Regions from separate parts of the Homo sapiens genome. Here region 2 is linked to region 1. The links are contacts of gene promoters, found by promoter capture Hi-C in human tissues and cell types (Jung and others, 2019). All regions are on one chromosome and are shown on one strand. Each heading gives the region's core, a stretch centred on a gene start or on the middle of the fragment in contact. The rest is flanking DNA. Distances are from core to core; before and after follow the strand shown.

Evidence for each region. The method cuts DNA at HindIII sites, captures the fragments that hold promoters and counts their contacts. A contact is called where the count stands out against the background at its distance.
Region 2: a fragment that was not itself captured here is called in contact with the fragment with the promoter of ATP8B1 in region 1 in 2 of the 25 tissues and cell types used here (IMR-90 fibroblasts and heart right ventricle).

Annotation. Positions count from the first base shown.
Region 1 is chr18:57,800,429-57,804,758 of GRCh38, reverse strand. It overlaps ATP8B1 (ATPase phospholipid transporting 8B1), which reads left to right and starts at 1,444. Exons shown (of 28, transcript NM_001374385.1): 1 at 1,444-1,761. RefSeq lists an enhancer at 1,187-1,824. The HindIII fragment of the contact is 14,543 bases long and covers 1-4,330 here.
Region 2 is chr18:57,906,119-57,910,172 of GRCh38, reverse strand. No RefSeq gene overlaps it. Among named protein-coding and RNA genes, the nearest start is that of LINC01897, 53 kb to the left of the region's middle. The HindIII fragment of the contact is 3,682 bases long and covers 1-3,495 here.

The DNA.
Region 1 (4,330 bases), core at 195-2,694:
GCAACTCCTCCGTATGTCGCTGTCCCAGCCTCTCAAGTGATTCTCCCATCTTCAGTTTTATCCTCTCTAGACTATCTCCCTATTATTTTCCCTAAAACACAACCTTGATCATGCTCATGCTCGGTCCTAAATTGTCAACGGTTTGCAGGTGCTACCAAAAACAAGTCTAAATGTCTTAGATCAACCAGTGTCACCAACAGGCCCTATGTTCTCTTGCATCGGTACCTTTGTTCTGTCGTTAGCTTCAGAATATAAGTGCTGGAAGAGACCATCTGGTCCAATCTCATTTTACAAATGAGGAAACTGAGGCCTGGATAGATTGAGTGACTGACCAGCACCTAGTCAGAGATCAAGTTTGACTCATGAAAAAGAAGCCTAGAGCAGCCTCGGGGTTGGTATCAGACAAGATTCTACCAGTTGGCCACCCGTTGAATACCCTCTCTACACAACTCTGATCCTTAAAGCTGTGGATCTTTGAGTCCCATCAAGCACGGCCTCCTGTAGGAAGCCTCTGTGATGACCCAGTTGGGAGTCTGGACTCTTGGGCATAGATGTGAGCCTCTAGGTGACTGGGAATCGTGTGGGAGTCCTGGCTCCCCTACTGCATTTTAAGCAAACTCTGATCTTTGATTTTCCTCCATTCTTATCCCAACGACTCGGTCCATAGTCGGGGAGCGGCAAAAGTCTACTCAAGAAGGAGGGTAATGTCTATACTGCCAGGGAGGCACGATTCACCCGCTCAGACACCAGCCAGCAACGAGGCGCTGAGTCCAAAATTTCCACCTACACCGCGTGGTTCACGGGCCGCACCTTAACTCCTTTTGACTCCAAACCCAAAAAAACTCGATAGCGTTTGGACTCGGCAGAAAGCCTGCTGGCTGCAATCACAGGATACGTTTCTGGAAGTCTTGAGGCGCAGCCTCTTTCTTCACCCTCCACGCGGCGAACTTTGACGCGCATTCGGTGACCGGTCCCCAAACATGACTTGGCATCAAGAGGACACAGCTCCCCTTACCGAGGGAGCTCAGGTCCCGGGCGCGCCGCGGCCCCGCCAGCTTTCCAGGCTGGCTCAGTCCTCGACCCGGGGTGACGGCCAAGCCAGCCAAGGGCAGCGGGAAAGTGACGCTGGGCTGGAGAGGTGTGGTGGCGAGTGCGGCCCCCGGGGAGCTAAGAGCAGCCGCAGCAACTGGGTCTCAGGCTGGGCGAGGCAAGGGCTCGTAGGCTGGGCTCGGAAGACTGAAAGGGGTGCCCACCTGACTCCAGGACGCACGGAGGGCGTGGGGCAGGAGCTGGACCTGGGCCGCCTCGGGCCGCCCCGGGGCTTGCAGTCCAGCCCCTCTCCGCCCTAGGGAGGGAAAAAGGGAGGGGAGAAGGCCGAGCCCGCCTCCAGCCCCAGCCCCAGCCCCAGCGAGGCTCGGCGGCCGCGGCTGCTGGAGGGAAACCAGAGGCACCTCCCCGAGCGGAGAAACCAGTTTGGCCGGTCCGGCGGAGCGGAGGCAAAAGGGCGGCTGCAGAGGAAGGGTGCACGGACGCGGGGCGGGGAAAGGCGGGGGAGCCACTAGCGAGCCGCGAGAGCCGGAGGTGCCGCCGCCAACTAGACACGCTTCCCCGGGCCCCCGGCCAGCCCCCGTGCGCCATGCAGCGCTAGCGCGGCGGCCAGGGCTGGGGCCGGGCGGGCGGCGGCAGCGGCCAGGTGCGCAGCGAGCGCTCCGAGCGGCGCGCACCAGGCGGATGCCCCAGCCGGGGCCCAGCGAACGCCAGGTAAGCAGGGGTGCGGCGCCGGGGGCCCCCAGACCTTCCCAAGCCCCTTGGCCCGGCGGTGTCCTGCAGGTTCCCTGGCCGCTCCCGCCGCACTTTGGAGATCCGGGATGCGGCGGCAGCAGCTGTCAGCGCCCTCGGACTCCCGAGCCCGCACAGGTGGGATTTGGGTGGAGGTGCTGGGAGCCCCCGAGGCCTCGGGGACGGCGAGACACGGCCGGCTGGGCAGGCAGCGCTGCGGAGAGTTCCGTGGGGTTTTCACCTGCCTAGAGGAGGGAAATCTCGGGGTGTTTGGGTTCTTCGATCGGTAGCGACACACATGTCCGGGGGTTAAGCCAGGTAGGGCTTGCGGCTCCTTGGGGGATGCCGCTGGCTCCTGTGCGGTGGCTACCGCCCCTCTGGAAGACCCCGGTGACCGGGTCCTGCTGGGGCGCTCTTTGGGAGCAGATGCCAACGTGTCCGAAAAGGACTTGCGGGCCAAACGTATCTGACCGCGGCCCACCTGCCGGGAGGGATGGAGGGGGTGAGATCGCTCTCCTCCCCAGCTCCTGTGGCAGGGCCAGGTACTCCCAGACATCTTCCGTGCGCTTTATTGTGGGATGGGGAGGGGAGGTGATGGGGAAGACCGACACCACTGTTTTTCCGGTGACTGTCGGGTCGCGTCCGCCAGCCCCGCTGAGATGGCTGCAGGCATCTCCTTCCCTCAGCAGTTTGGTGCCCTGCGCTGTCACCTCGCTGTGTGCACGAGGAGGGGCAACTTGTTGGGGGGCGCGGGGAGATGTTGCAGAGAATGGCCCAGTGCTTTAACACCCCTCGCCCCCACTTCTCCAACTCCCTCCTTCTCCCCAAAGTGAAAGAAAAGTTCTGAAGTGTCTGCCCAACTTTTCCGACGGAGGCGTGTGCCTGTGGTCCCTGCCGGGGGTTGGTGGCTGGTTGCGGGGGGGGGCGGTGCTCGGAGCGCAGATCCGTGACGGTTGTACGGGGGAGACTGGATTGCAGTAAGGATGCAAATTGGGGAAGGGGGATTGACACGCAGAAGTAAGGAGGACTTGGGCCGCGCTTCTGCCCGGTGAGTACCCGCTCAACCCTACCCGACCCCCTTGGCCTGCACGCGCTGCCCTTGGGGGCTGCAAGCTCTTCCTGGGTAGCTCCAGACGCCGCCGAGTTCCTCTCCCGGAAACTGGCCTCCCTGTTGGCGTGAGAAAATATTCGCTCCCATCTTCCTGGTTGCATTGCCTTCAAAATTTTGCCACTACCCATGGGAAACTAAAAAAAGAAAAAACTAGTGGGATGTTTGGAGATCACCCGGCACACGGTAGGTTATCGATGAAGGTTAACTGCTTTCAGGAACAAAAGCTAAAAAAAACCACGCGTGATAAAGCCTCCAGGGATAGTGAATACGAGCCCGTATATATGGGGGACACGACAGCAAATGTGAAGTAGAAGCGCTAATTTTCGTCCGCTAAGGAATACTTTTGTGTTAGACCTAAGATGCCGTTCATTAATTCTGGGCCTGTTGTTGAAGGCTTTATTAAACCCTATTATAAATGCGCAGACTGTGCACAAGATGATTAATGCTTATTAGCTGATTACTTTCTGGGGGAGAAGTCACGCCTGCCTGCAGTTAACTCCTCTGAATTCTCTTAATGATTTTCATTAGGTGGTGGAGTTTTCCTTGCTATAATTTTGGGAAGGAACATTAACCACTTTGTTCATTCGTCGTTTTCCAGTGGCTGTATTTTAGTAACTTTTAGTGATTCTTTGCGTGGGTTATTAAGGGCCGAGCAAGACTCTTTTGGTTATTACTGTCCAACACAGATGCCACCTGTGTGAGGTCAGCTCTGGCTGCTTTCAAGTTTTCCTTATGGATTTTAAGGAACACACACACCTGTGTGCACATGTTATTACATCCTAGTGATAGAACTGGGAGAGGTTTTGTTTTGTTTTTTGTTCAATAGAAGTTTAAAAATAATAATGTGGTACAGCAAATGGCTTCGCAAAAAGAAGTCTTCGGTGGTAAGGCAAGTTCAGGACTGATTTTATGTTTAATCTGATTTTCAGTCTAGGGGATCTTAGTGCTAATGGAGTCACTACCAGATCTGGCTGTAGAATGTTCTTTTCCTTTCCTTCCGTCCATTCCTCTTTCCTCTTTCTTTTCCATCCTTTTGAAGCAAGGAGTAGTGGAAAATATAAAAATGCCCACAGATTTCAGTTCTTTTCCTTATTAATTGTATAACCTTAAATGAATTCTTGTTTTCTGAACCTCTGTTTGCTGCTCTGTTGAGGGGAAAAGATATTATCAATCTCTTTGGATTGTTGAAAGAATTAAATCAGAGAACATATGAATGTTCTTTATATATAGTCAGTGTTTGAATGTTGGTTTCTTACTTTCTTTATTAGATTGATATCTAAAAATACTATTATTGCAGGTATCTGGTATATTTTTAAGATTTTATTGCCTTATGAATTAAAATTCCATTTTAGTTTTTTATAAGCAACATTCACAGAATGCAGGTAATTCTAACAACTCCAGAGAGATTTTTCCTAGTTACCTTTGCTCTTTAGTGTCGGT
Region 2 (4,054 bases), core at 405-2,904, 110 kb before region 1:
ACTAAGAAATCTGTAAGAGGACCACTTTGCCAAATTCAGGTTTTCTCTCCACAGAGGTCTATGCACCCCAGCTCCACCTTTGCTTTCCCCCAGAGAGAGGCTTTCCCTGACAAAGGGACAGAAGGGGACAGCCTGCCTCAATGAGAAATTTCATATTCCCCTCTTAGGAAGTGATTCTCTTAGGAGGCAGTTTCTGCTGCCAACTTTAACATGCTGCTTTTACCAACTATTAAACCCACCCAGGCTTTCAAAAACAGACGCAGTTCTAGTAAGGGCAGTCTGTGATAGCCAGTGCTGAGGAAGTCGAGTGCTCTGCCCATCCTCCTGTGAGTTCTTACACAGTGTAGAGAGAACAGAACTTCGCCTCCGCTGGGTGACTCAGGCACCCGAACACCAATTAACTGCACTGTTCTGCTAATACAATGACGCCTCCAGGGAAACTGGGCTGGGCAGGTCAGTTTACCCTGGTATTAAAGGGCCCCAGACAACTCTTCGCTGAGTTCTGTCTCCTGCTTTATAGGTGTCTTAGTCTGTGTTGTTATAATAGAATACCAAAGACTCGGTAATTTATAAAGAACAAAGATTTATCTCTTACATTCTGGAGGCTGGGAAGTCCCAGGTCAAGGTGGCTACAATCTAGTGAGGGCCTTACTGGTCATCCCATGGTGGAAGGTGGAAGGACAATAGAGTACATGTGAGAAAGAGAAAGGGGAAGGATGCCAAATTCATCCTTTTTTATCAGGAACCCACTCTTGCGATAACTAACCCTCTCCCACCCTAACGACATTAATCCATTTATAAGGGCAGAGCCTCATGACCTAATCACCTCTTAAAGGTGATTAACACCACCCACCTCTCAAAACTAGCATTGGGGATTCAGTTGCCAACACATGAATTTAGGGGGACACATTCAACCATAGAAGTAGGATTTGCATTTCTTACTTGTCTTTCAGGCTGTCACATTTGTCCTTCCTGCTATTGTTGGTGACTCTGCTCCACAGAGAACCATCTTCTCTTCTCATCCCTGTTGTGAGCTGAGAATCTTGACATCCAAACTTCATAGAACTGCTTCTGCGTGAACAGCATACGCATTTTGAGTGAGGACCTCAGGGTCTTCCATCTGAGTAAATAACATCAAATTTAGTTTCTTAATTGTTTCTTCTTTTTTCAATTCTGTTGCTGATATTCATTCATCCGTCTATTCATTCAACTTATGTGTTAGGTCCTAGAGCCATGGTTCTTAACCTTGGCTACACATTGGAGTCAGCTGGGGAGCCTTAAAGACTTCCCAACACCAGGCTTCCATCGCTGGAAGATTCTGATATAAATGGTCCTGGGTATGTCTTGGGTATTGGGAGTTTCAGAAGCTTCCCAGGTGATTCTAATGTGCAGCCAGGGTTGAGAACTCCAGGTCCAAAGGCTAAGGGACTTCTTCATGGTTTGTTAATAGCATGTGGGAACCCATCAGCTCCCTTCTCTATAACATCTGACAGCTATTTCCACTGTTAGGAGTCTTTGGAGCTTTGTCTTATCTATATTTTTTGCTCCTTGGAATATTTGAGTCTTTAGGGATGCTTTTCCGGACCTTTCTTTCTCGAATAATGTATAGAATATGTGATTAGAAAGATTAAACTCTTGGGCCAGAGTCTGACATGGTTGCAGATAATAAGCTTTTATTGGTCATTGACTTGGGATCAAATCTTGGTATTTAAGAAATCTGAGCTTCTTCCTATAACAGAATTTTATCTTGAGCTATAGAAGGCACACTCTGTCTCCAAACATCACGGCTTCCTTCCTCATCTTCCAGACTTGAAACTCAGGATTCTTTTTCAGCATAGAGGTCTGATCCAAAAGGCCAAAGAGTTGTTCCAGCTTTCCTAATCACTTCCTGTGTGACCTTGAGTAAGTTGCTTAATCACTCTGGGCTCTAGATGCCTCATTTTAAAGTTTTCAGTAATGCATGTCATAAACTTAATTTTATTATCAAGGGGTTGTTGTGATCATCAAGGATTATAAATGCATGCTTTTTTTTGTAAAGAAAGAAATTCAGCAGTATTATTACAAAGTAAAATACCTACTGTGAATTGGTGTTAACCATTCACTTCTTCCTTTCTTTTCCACAAGTTTAACTCTAGTTTAGGGTTTTAAAACTTTATACAGAGATTATTGAAAGTAATTTCTGAGACTCATATAAAGCACAAATAATATACTATTTTAATCTGGGGTGGGGTTTATTTTGTATTAAATCTATTTAGGGTTAGAATCGGGAATGTGTGAAAAGAAACAAAGTTGAGTGATGCAAAGTCCAGCCTTCCGAATGGAAGACAGAGTTTCGGGAGTTGCTTGGGAGCTGGACAGCCCTTCCCTCTTCTGCCTGCTACATACAAGCAAAAATATACCCAGCAAGTGGGCAGGGCACTTCCCAAGGCTAATTTACCGGAGCTGTTTTGTAATGCAATTCAGGTTACTGACTCTCTATTAGCAACATGTTGTCCCACTGTTGTGCCTGCAGGAAGGACATCTCTTGCAGGCCAGGGGAAGTTAATGGCAGAGATTAACCCTCATGGTGCCAGAGGACCAGTTTATTTTCAGATGTCCAAGGCTGACAAAGGAAAATCAGAAAGAGAAAAGAAAAGTGAGCTGTCACTTTGAGTCAAGACCATCCTAATTTCTTTTCTCCATGCCTCCATCCTCAGGGCTCAGGGCTCTCCCCTCCACCTCCACAGCAGAGTGGGCAGGAGAGAGCCTGGCTGTGACTTTTGTGCACCTGGATGGGGCCCATAGATTTTTCATGACACAAATGGAGACTGAGGTGGGGGAGAGTCGGACAGACCAGGGAGAGGGGATGCTGAGGCCTGAAGGAGAAGAGACTAAGGAGCTACACAGTGTGGGGAGAGGGAGAAGGAGGCAATGGGAGGAAAGAGATGTCCCCAAGAGGGAATACTGTGCAGCTACAAAGTACGCTGCTCTGATCTCCCTTCAAGGCAACCTGCCGCATAGAGAGAAACTGGTGCACTGCGTTCTGCATATTCTGATCTGTTTCAGCCCTCACAGGGAGCCCCCAGCACCCCCACTGCACTCCTCAAGCTGCTCCCAGTCCATCACTGAGCAGAGTGAATGCTCCTTTGCCTTGAAGATCTCCATCTGCTGGGCTTCCCTGAGATTGCTCCTCCCCAGGCCTCCTTCCTCCCCTCACTCCTCCCACAGGTATCAGGTCTGAGCTGTACTCTGAAGGCGTTCTCTTTACCTTTCACAGATGTGTCCCCCAGTCAATCAATCTCTTGCGTGTCTAATTCCATCTTAGTGTCTGCTTCTTAAGAAGTAGACTGACCCAAACTGACACTGCCCCTCGGGGATGTCCATGGGAACCTCTACACAGGGATGTCCTAGTTTATGTACAAGGAGTCCTTTCCCTTCTGCCCATTTATAATCTCTCCTGTCCCACCGTGCAAAATGAAGAGATCCCTTTCACCTCTCCAGCGTCTGAGTATGAACATTGCCCCAGGGGTGTTAAAAACATCCCAGGTGCCAAACAATAACAATGTGAAACATTGGCATTAGCCTTCTTTAATCAAGATACTACGAGCCCATGATTGGTTCCATCTTAAGTACATTGTGGCTAATGGACAAACCACGGTGTTTTGTCCATGTCGTCATGCTCTTGTTTCACATCTGTTAAAGACCAGGGTGGCAGAAGTGGTGACAAGTTTCATTCAAACATTTCCTGGAGTGGCCATGAGAAGGCTCCTCACAGAATTCCAGCTCCAGGGGGCTAAATTGACTCAGGGGCCCCAGTTCCTGCCTTCTGAAATCCACTGGCACAAATGTGCATGATTCCATCACCGTGAGCTGCTCTCAGCCAACCACTGAATGCGACTGGGAAACTGAGGCAGATCTGCTCCTGGGAGACTCGGGACTCCTCCGATGGCCAGACTTGACTCGCGAATTCCCTGGTGGCCTTGCTGAAACTTCCTGAGGGTGCACAGCAGCCTGGGATGCTTCCACCCTCTCTCCTTCATGCAGCCTCGCACTCACACTGCCATCTGACCGGTCC